Regions from separate parts of the Homo sapiens genome. Here region 1 is linked to region 2. Evidence: promoter capture Hi-C in human tissues and cell types (Jung and others, 2019). All regions are on one chromosome and are shown on one strand. The core of a region is centred on a gene start or on the middle of the fragment in contact, and the rest is flanking DNA. Distances in the headings are between cores, read along the strand shown. Region 1 overlaps BRF1 (BRF1 general transcription factor IIIB subunit). Region 2 holds the start of MTA1 (metastasis associated 1).

Region 1 (4,298 bases), core at 1,615-4,114, 140 kb after region 2:
TAGTTTATTCTTTTATTGCAATGTAGTATTTCATGGGATGAATAGACCACAGTTTATCTCCTTTTCCTGTTGATGGACGTCTAGGGTGTTTCCATTCTTGGCTGTGCACAGGAAGCTGCTGTGCGTGTTCTTGCACCTGGTCCTTCGGTGGACACAGGTGCCCCCTCCGCTTGGGAGTTTACCTGCGAATGGGTGTCTGGGTCCTGAGGTCTGGGTGTGCTCATCATTAGATAGGGCCACAGGGTTTTCTGTAGTGCTTGTACCAGTTCATGTTCCCACCAGGAAGCAGTGTAGGAGAGTCCCAGTGGCTCCGCAGCCTTGTTCACATGTGGCATCATCAGCCTTTCCAGTTGTAGTCTTTCTGGTAGGTGTGTAGCACACTCGCTGCGGCATTAATTCGCTTTCCCTGGTGAGTAATTATGGCCACAACCTTTGCTCATGCTTCTTGGCTGTTGGGACGTCCTTTCTGTGTGAAGTGCCTATTGGCGTCTTTTGTGCTTTTTAAAAACTGAGTTGTCTTTTTCTTACAGATTTGTAGAGTTCTTTATATATTCTGGATTCGAGTCCTTTGTTGGATATACATGTTTCGAATCCTCCTCCCACGTCTGTAGCTTGTCTCACTCTCTTAATGTTGTCTTTTGACGAACAGAAACTTCTGAATTTTTTTTTTTGAGACTGGGTCTCACTCACTCTGTGGTCCGGGCTGGAGTGCAGTGGTGCAGTCGATGCTCCTTGCAGCCTCAACCTCCCAGACTAAAGCCGCCCTCTCACTTCAGCCTCCCGAGTAGTTGGGATCACGTGTACATGCCACCACATCCACTCATTTTTAATTTTTTTCTTTGACATGGAGTCTCACTCTTTTGCCAGACTGGAGTGCAGTGGCGCGATCTCGGCTCACTGCAGCCTCTGCCTCATGGGTGCAAGCGATTCTCCTGCCTTAGCCTCCCGAGTAGCTGGGATTACAGGTGTGCACCACCATGCCCGGCTAATATTTGTACTTTTTAGTAGAGACGGGGTTTCACCATGTTGGTCAGGATGGTCTCGATCTCTTGACCTCGTGATCTGCCCGCCTCGGCCTCCCAAAGTGTTGGGATTACCGGCATGAGCCACTGCGCACGGCCAATTCTTTTTTTTTTTTAAATAGAGATGGGGGTCTCACCATGTTGGCCAGGTTGGTCTTCAACTCCTGGGCTCCAGTGATCCTCCCACCTCAGCCTCCCAAAGTGCTGGGATGACAGGTGTGAGCCACTGCACCCTGCCAGAAATTTCTTAATTATAATGAAGTCCCAGTATATCAGTTTTTATGGTTAGGGCTGTTTGTGACTTGTTCAAGAAATTCTTATCTACTCCAAGGTCTGAAGATACTCTTGTGTTTTCCTCTGGAAGCTTTATTGCTTTATACTTTACATGTAAGTGGTGATATGCCTCAAATCTTTTTTTTTTTTTTTGGAGACAGGGTCTCGCTCTCTTGCTGCCCAGGCTGGACTGCAGTGGCAGGATCATGGCTCACTGCAGCCTCAACCTTCCAAGCTCAAGCAGTCCTCCTACCTTGGCTGGGCCTACAGGCTTGCACCACCACACCTGGCTGATTATTTTAGCAGTTGGATCTCACTATGTTGCCCAGGCTGGTCTTGAACTTCTGGGCTCAAGTGATCTACCTGCTTCAGCCTCCCGAAGTGCTGGGATTACTACAGGCATGAGCCACGGCACACAGCCTGAGTTTACTTTTAGAATTCATTTGTTGGAAGGAAGTCTAAGGAGACTCGCAGGCTATGGCTAGCTAATTAGTAGTTGGTTTCTATGTGAATATCTGTTTATTAATAACATATTTGGCCAGGCACAGTGGCTCATGCTTGTATCCCAGCACTTTGGGAGGCGGAGATGGGTGGATCACAAGGTCAGGAGTTCGAGACCATCCTGGCCAACAGTGTGAAACCCTGTCTGTACTAAAAATACAAAAAATTAGCTGGGTGCAGTGGCATGTGCCTGTAGTCCCAGCTACTCAAGAGGCTGAGGCAGGAGAATCACTTGAACCCGGGAAGCAGAGGTTGCAGTGAGCTGAGATCGCACCACTGCACTCTAGCCTGGGTGACAGAGCGAGACTCCATCTCAAAAAAGAGAAAGAAGATGGTAAAAAATAACTTACTGCAGTCATCATAAGCCCCCATTTTAGTCCTTTTGGGCTGCTGTAACAGAACACCATAGACCAGAAAGGCAAAACAGCAGGAATGTGTTTCTCACACTTTTGGAGCTGGAAAGTTTGAGCTGGAGATGGGGGAGACAGTTGCCTCCTCCCCAGCTCTCTAGTGAGGGCCGCCTCTCAGCTCCTTCTCACTGTGGCCTCCTCCCCAGCTCTCTAGTGAGGGCCGCCTCTCAGCTCCTTCTCACTGTGGCCTCCTCCCCAGCTCTCTAGTGAGGGCCCCCTCTCAGCTCCTTCTCACTGTGGCCTCCTCCCCAGCTCTCTAGTGAGGGCCGCCTCTCGGCTCCTTCTCACTGTGGCCTCCTCCCCAGCTCTCTAGTGAGGGCCCCCTCTCAGCTCCTTCTCACTGTGGCCTCCTCCCCAGCTCTCTAGTGAGGGCCGCCTCTCGGCTCCTTCTCACTGTGGCCTCCTCCCCAGCTCTCTAGTGAGGGCCCCCTCTCAGCTCCTTCTCACTGTGGCCTCCTCCCCAGCTCTCTAGTGAGGGCCCCCTCTCAGCTCCTTCTCACTGTGGCCTCCTCCCCAGCTCCCTAGTGAGGGCCCCCTCTCGGCTCCTTCTCACTGTGGCCTCCTCCCCAGCTCTCTAGTGAGGGCCGCCTCTCGGCTCCTTCTCACTGTGGCCTCCTCCCCAGCTCTCTAGTGAGGGCCGCCTCTCGGCTCCTTCTCACTGTGGCCTCCTCCCCAGCTCTCTAGTGAGGGCCCCCTCTCAGCTCCTTCTCACTGTGGCCTCCTCCCCAGCTCCCTAGTGAGGGCCCCCTCTCGGCTCCTTCTCACTGTGGCCTCCTCCCCAGCTCTCTAGTGAGGGCCGCCTCTCGGCTCCTTCTCACTGTGGCCTCCTCCCCAGCTCTCTAGTGAGGGCCGCCTCTCGGCTCCTTCTCACTGTGGCCTCCTCCCCAGCTCTCTAGTGAGGGCCGCCTCTCAGCTCCTTCTCACTGTGGCCTCCTCCCCAGCTCTCTAGTGAGGGCCGCCTCTCGGCTCCTTCTCACTGTGGCCTCCTCCCCAGCTCTCTAGTGAGGGCCGCCTCTCAGCTCCTTCTCACTGTGGCCTCCTCCCCAGCTCTCTAGTGAGGGCCCCCTCTCGGCTCCTTCTCACTGTGGCCTCCTCCCCAGCTCTCTAGTGAGGGCCGCCTCTCGGCTCCTTCTCACTGTGGCCTCCTCCCCAGCTCTCTAGTGAGGGCCCCCTCTCGGCTCCTTCTCACTGTGGCCTCCTCCCCAGCTCTCTAGTGAGGGCCGCCTCTCGGCTCCTTCTCACTGTGGCCTCCTCCCCAGCTCTCTAGTGAGGGCCCCCTCTCAGCTCCTTCTCACTGTGGCCTCCTCCCCAGCTCTCTAGTGAGGGCCGCCTCTCGGCTCCTTCTCACTGTGGCCTCCTCCCCAGCTCTCTAGTGAGGGCCGCCTCTCGGCTCCTTCTCACTGTGGCCTCCTCCCCAGCTCTCTAGTGAGGGCCCCCTCTCGGCTCCTTCTCACTGTGGCCTCCTCCCCAGCTCTCTAGTGAGGGCCGCCTCTCGGCTCCTTCTCACTGTGGCCTCCTCCCCAGCTCTCTAGTGAGGGCCGCCTCTCGGCTCCTTCTCACTGTGGCCTCCTCCCCAGCTCTCTAGTGAGGGCCCCCTCTCAGCTCCTTCTCACTGTGGCCTCCTCCCCAGCTCTCTAGTGAGGGCCGCCTCTCAGCTCCTTCTCACTGTGGCCTCCTCCCCAGCTCTCTAGTGAGGGCCCCCTCTCAGCTCCTTCTCACTGTGGCCTCCTCCCCAGCTCTCTAGTGAGGGCCGCCTCTCAGCTCCTTCTCACTGTGGCCTCACGTGGTAGAAGAGCTGGGCTAGTTCTCTGGGGTCCGGTTTTTAAGGGCACTGAGCTCATCATTAGTGCTCTGCCTCCTGACCTAGTCTCCCGCAAAGGCCCTGCATCTTAATACCATCCCCGTAGGGGATAGGATTTCAACATAGGAATTTTAGGAGTCAGACATTCTGACCATAGCAGCCCTGCATGCTGGGAACACGAGCTGGTGCCTGTGGGGTCGGGGCTTGGGATCGAGTCCCAGCCTCAAGTGTGTGGCCTCAGAGAGTACCTCTCTCTTACCTTTTATTACAGAATTTTCAAACATACAGCAG
Region 2 (4,090 bases), core at 173-2,672:
CTGTATGAGGCTGTGGGAGGGGCTGCCGCTGGATGGGGTACAGGCCCACCGCCCCTCTGAGAGGACAGGGGAGGCCCAGAGCTGCTGATGCGGACTGACCGCCCATCTCACAGACGGGATGTAGGGGGCTCCCACCGTCCCCAAGGTCACAGGACTGGCCGGCCAGACCACACGGCGTCCAAGGCAGCAGAAGCCACGCTCGAGAGACACAGAGTGTTCTGGGCACTCGGGGTCAGGGGCATGGGGATCAAGCCAGAGCGGGAGTGACCCCAGCTCCCTCCAGCAGCGCAGGCTGCAGGTGGGAAAGGTAATGAGCACCTGCCCGAGAGGGTCACAGGCAGGGAGGGGTCTCAGAGTCCTGGGGAGGGAGGCGCTGATGGAATGATGGAATGCACACGACCCCCCACCTTCCTGTGAAAGACCCCACGGAGTCCCAGGCACACGAAGGAGGGCAAGGCTCAAAGCTGCAGGCCCGGGGGGCCCGAGCAACAGGAGGCTGGGCCCACGGAGGAAGCCCCTGCCCAGGAGGCCCTCCGGCCTCTCCCCAACCCTTGCAAAGCGCCTCCCGAATGGGCTGAGGTGAGCGAGAGGCAGGGAAAAGTTTGGGGGGACTTAGAGGCGTGCTCGGGATGCTCGCTCCCTGCTGAAGACCCCCTGAGGGATCCCTGCTGGGGGAAGCCCCGGGGCCAGGCTGCAGGAGGGCTCTAGGGAGGAACGTGGCCCCTCACCGGGGCTCCCCATCCCCAGAGGGGATGCACCGGAGTCCCAGCACAGGGCCGCGGGCCGGGGGAGACCCCACAGCCCCAAAACTCCTGCTCCCAGACCGGCAGCCGGCGCCTCCCAAGGCCACGTGCTCCCGCTGGGGGCTCCCGGCCCCGGACCCCCGGATGTCCCGCAGGCCCCGCGCCCCCCCGCCACCCCCGCGGCCGCCCCCTCGGCCCCAACAGGTGGGCCGCCCCCCACCCCCGGGCCGCCGAGCCCCGCCCGCCCCCGATGGGGCCGACCCGCGGGGCCATTTTGGGTTGGGGTGAGCACGGCGGGGGGCGGTTCGGGAAGGAGCCGGGGGCCGCGAGGGCGGGCGGGGGGCGCGGGGCCTGCGGGGCAGAGGGGCGGGGGAGGCGGCAGCGGCGGCGGGTGGGGGCTGCGGGCGGGTCGGGGCCGGGCATAAAGGCGGTGCGGCCTTACCTCCGACCCTGTACATGTTGGCGGCCATGTCCGGGCCGGCGGCGGCGGAGGGGCCCGGGGCGGGCGCGGCGCTCGGCGCGGGCGGCCGGGAAAATGGAGGCGCGATGGCGGGGGCGGGGGGCGCCGCAGGCGTTTAAAGGGGCCGCGCTGCTGCCGCCGCCGCCGCCGCCGCCGCCGCCGAGGCCGCCGAGGCCGCGCAGGGACGGGAGGGCCGCGGCGCGGGCGGGAGAGGAAGAGGAGGAGCGGCCGCGGGCGGCGGGGAGGGGCCTCGGGCGCCGCCGCCCACCGCACGGGCCGTTACCGACCCCGCGCCGCCCGCGGCCCGCGCGCCCCTTCCCGGACAGTTCCTCTCGGCGCCCCCGAGTCCTCCCCGCGCGCCGCTTCCCGGGTGGGCCCTTCCACCAGAACCCCCTGGTAGATCCTCCCCTGGTGCCCTGGGGGTAGAGGGGAGATCCTCCACAAGGGCCATTTCCCTGGTGATCCCTCCCTGTGCCCCACAGGTGAGTCCTGCCGTAGCTCTCCAGGGGTTCCTCCTGATGCTGGGGTCCTCCGGCATTCCTCCCTGAGCCCCCCAAGGGCCCTGAAGCTCAGCGGCCCAGCCCTGGCCTCGGGGTCCCCACCCCACACCTCCCTTCCAGGCCTAACCTTTGCCCCCGACACCAGGCAGGGCGTGTCCTTGGCCTTCGCCGCCCAGCCCGCGTGGCATCTCTGGACAGGTGGTCGTGCGCGCCTTGGTGTGGGCAGGCTCCGTAGCCGGCAAAGCCTCCCTGAACCGTGACCTGGTGAGAAGGCCGCAGAGGAGGTGCCTGTGCCCAGAGGCCACCTCCAAAGACCCCACCTGAGGCTGGAACCCAGCGCCTGCTGACCCCGCCAGCCCCAACAGGGCTGGAGTCCAGGAGCGGCCGTGCTCTTTCCGCAGTGAGGCAGCTGCCTTCTCTTCCCACCACCTGTCAGGATGCCTTCCCGTGTGTGCTTGTGCACAGGTCTAAGGAGAGGAGAGTCCAGTGAGTGACCCAGACGCCCCAGCCAGGAAGAGCATGAGGTGCGAAGGGGGCTTCCCAGATGGAGAGAAACAGATGGTCCCAGAGTGGCTTGGAGACAGGTGCAACATCAGTGTTGGGGGAGGTGAGCAAAAGGAGCTGTCTCGGGGTTCCAGGCTGCTGATGTGAGCAGCACCGTGGGTCTCTGTCCTGCCTGCTCAGATGCTGGAGGGAGCTGACATCTACTTGGGACATCCCTCTCTGTAGGACATGGAGCGGAGCGTTCAGGGCTATCAGGAGGGAGCCCCGTGGCCACGGTGCAAGATCTAGGCAGGCGGGACAGACATGGTCAGGATGCTGGGGACACAGCATGGGGAATCCAGCACACAGGACACCATCCAGGTGGGTAGGAAACAGCATGTGCTGGGAGGAAAGCCAGGTGGGGGTCCCAAGGAGAGCGGTGGCCACAATGTCATGGCTGCAGAGCAGACCAGTAAGGAAAGCCCCACCAGGGTTAGCACAGGGCCAGGAACCCGAGCTGCAGGGCGGTGCTGTCTCTGGGGAGAGAGGGCTATGGGTCCCAGGACACATCCTGCGGGCTGGGCTGCAGGGAACAGGAGCTGGCTTGCTGGTGATTGGGAGGGAAGAGCAGCCAGCCAGCGGCCAGGTGCAGGAGAGGGGCAATGACAGACAGGCAGCGTCTCTCCAGAAGGAAGGTGGGGCTGCTGGCCTCCCCTGTCCTACAGCCCCAGCCTACCTCTGTCTCCTCAGCAGGAAAGCAAAGCTGCAGCCTGAGATCTCCTTCCACCAACTCCTGGCATGGCCAGAAAGTTAGCCAGAAACACCAGAAAGTGCCAGGCAGCTAGGAAGCATGGGGAGAGCCCCCTGAAGCTGCGTGTGTAGTGCCTGCTTCCGCTGCCATCCCAGAAATGGACGAGCTTCACCCTGAGAACCCAGCCACACCACTGGGACACATCCTGACAGTGACATGCACACTCTTCCCTGGCCCCAGCCTGGAGAGGAGCCTCCTGAAGACACCAGCCTTTGCTCCTTCTCCCAGTGGGAGTGGAGAGAACTGACTGCTGGAGTGGAGACAGTCAAGGCTGTCCTTCTGAGGGAGCACAGCACAGGGTCTGGTGTCCCAGGGAGGCAATCTGAAATTCAAGCCAGGCCTCCCCAGCGGAGAGGACACACCCCTCACCATGCAGAGTGACGTTTAGTAAACTCTCAAAAGAGAGCACAGAGCCCCACTCCTCCAGCCGACCCATACTCTGCCTCCCCACTCCAGACCAGTGAACAAGGTGGATTGCCCTTAAGCCAGCTCAGAGGCAAAGTCCAAAGACCTCAGGTGAGTCAAACAATAAAAACAAAGAATTAAGAAGAATCCAGCTGGGTGCGGTGGCTCACGCCTGTAATCCCAGCACTTTGGGAGGCTGAGGCGGGAGGATCACGAGCAGGAGGTCGAGACCATCCTGGCTAACACGGTGAAACCCCGTCTCTACTAAAAATAGAAAAAATTAGCTGGGCGTGGTGGCGGGCGCCTGTAGTCCCAGCTACTCCGGAGGCTGAGGCAGAAGAATGGCGTGAACCCAGGAAGCGGAGCTTGCAGTGAGCCGAGATCATGCCACTGCACTCCAGCCTGGGCGACAGAGCGAGACTCCGTCTCCAAAAAAAAAAAAAAAAAAAAAATCCATCCACTCCATCCACTTAGTAGCAGAGCGAATAGACATTCAGGAAAGAGCTTTCACGTCAGAAAGCACTACAGAAGTAGTGGCATATCCCCGGAGGCTGAGGTGGGAGCATTGCTGAGAGGTGGCACGTGACCACATCCATGTCATTCAACAACAGAAAAACAAGTCATCGAGGGTGTGAGGGGCCGGTGAGAAACCCAGTATGGAAGAAAACACAACTGGGCTGAGCGTGGT

Evidence for each region. Contacts are between HindIII fragments. The study calls those that stand out against the background at their distance.
Region 1: a fragment that was not itself captured here is called in contact with the fragment with the promoter of MTA1 in region 2 in 3 of the 25 tissues and cell types used here (H1 embryonic stem cells, mesendoderm cells and pancreas).

What each region holds. Positions count from the first base shown.
Region 1 is chr14:105,275,586-105,279,883 of GRCh38, reverse strand. All of the region lies in intron 2 of BRF1 (BRF1 general transcription factor IIIB subunit), which reads left to right. Among named protein-coding and RNA genes, the nearest start is that of BRF1, 23 kb to the left of the region's middle. The HindIII fragment of the contact is 6,963 bases long and covers 1-4,298 here.
Region 2 is chr14:105,417,159-105,421,248 of GRCh38, reverse strand. It overlaps MTA1 (metastasis associated 1), which reads right to left and starts at 1,422. Exons shown (of 21, transcript NM_004689.4): 1 at 1,186-1,422. The coding sequence starts at 1,213. It overlaps MTA1-DT (MTA1 divergent transcript), which reads left to right and starts at 1,510. Exons shown (of 2, transcript NR_125385.1): 1 at 1,510-2,227; 2 at 2,940-3,668. RefSeq lists silencers at 1,329-1,588, 1,679-1,728, 1,759-1,858 and an enhancer at 2,556-3,225. The HindIII fragment of the contact is 32,458 bases long and covers 1-4,090 here.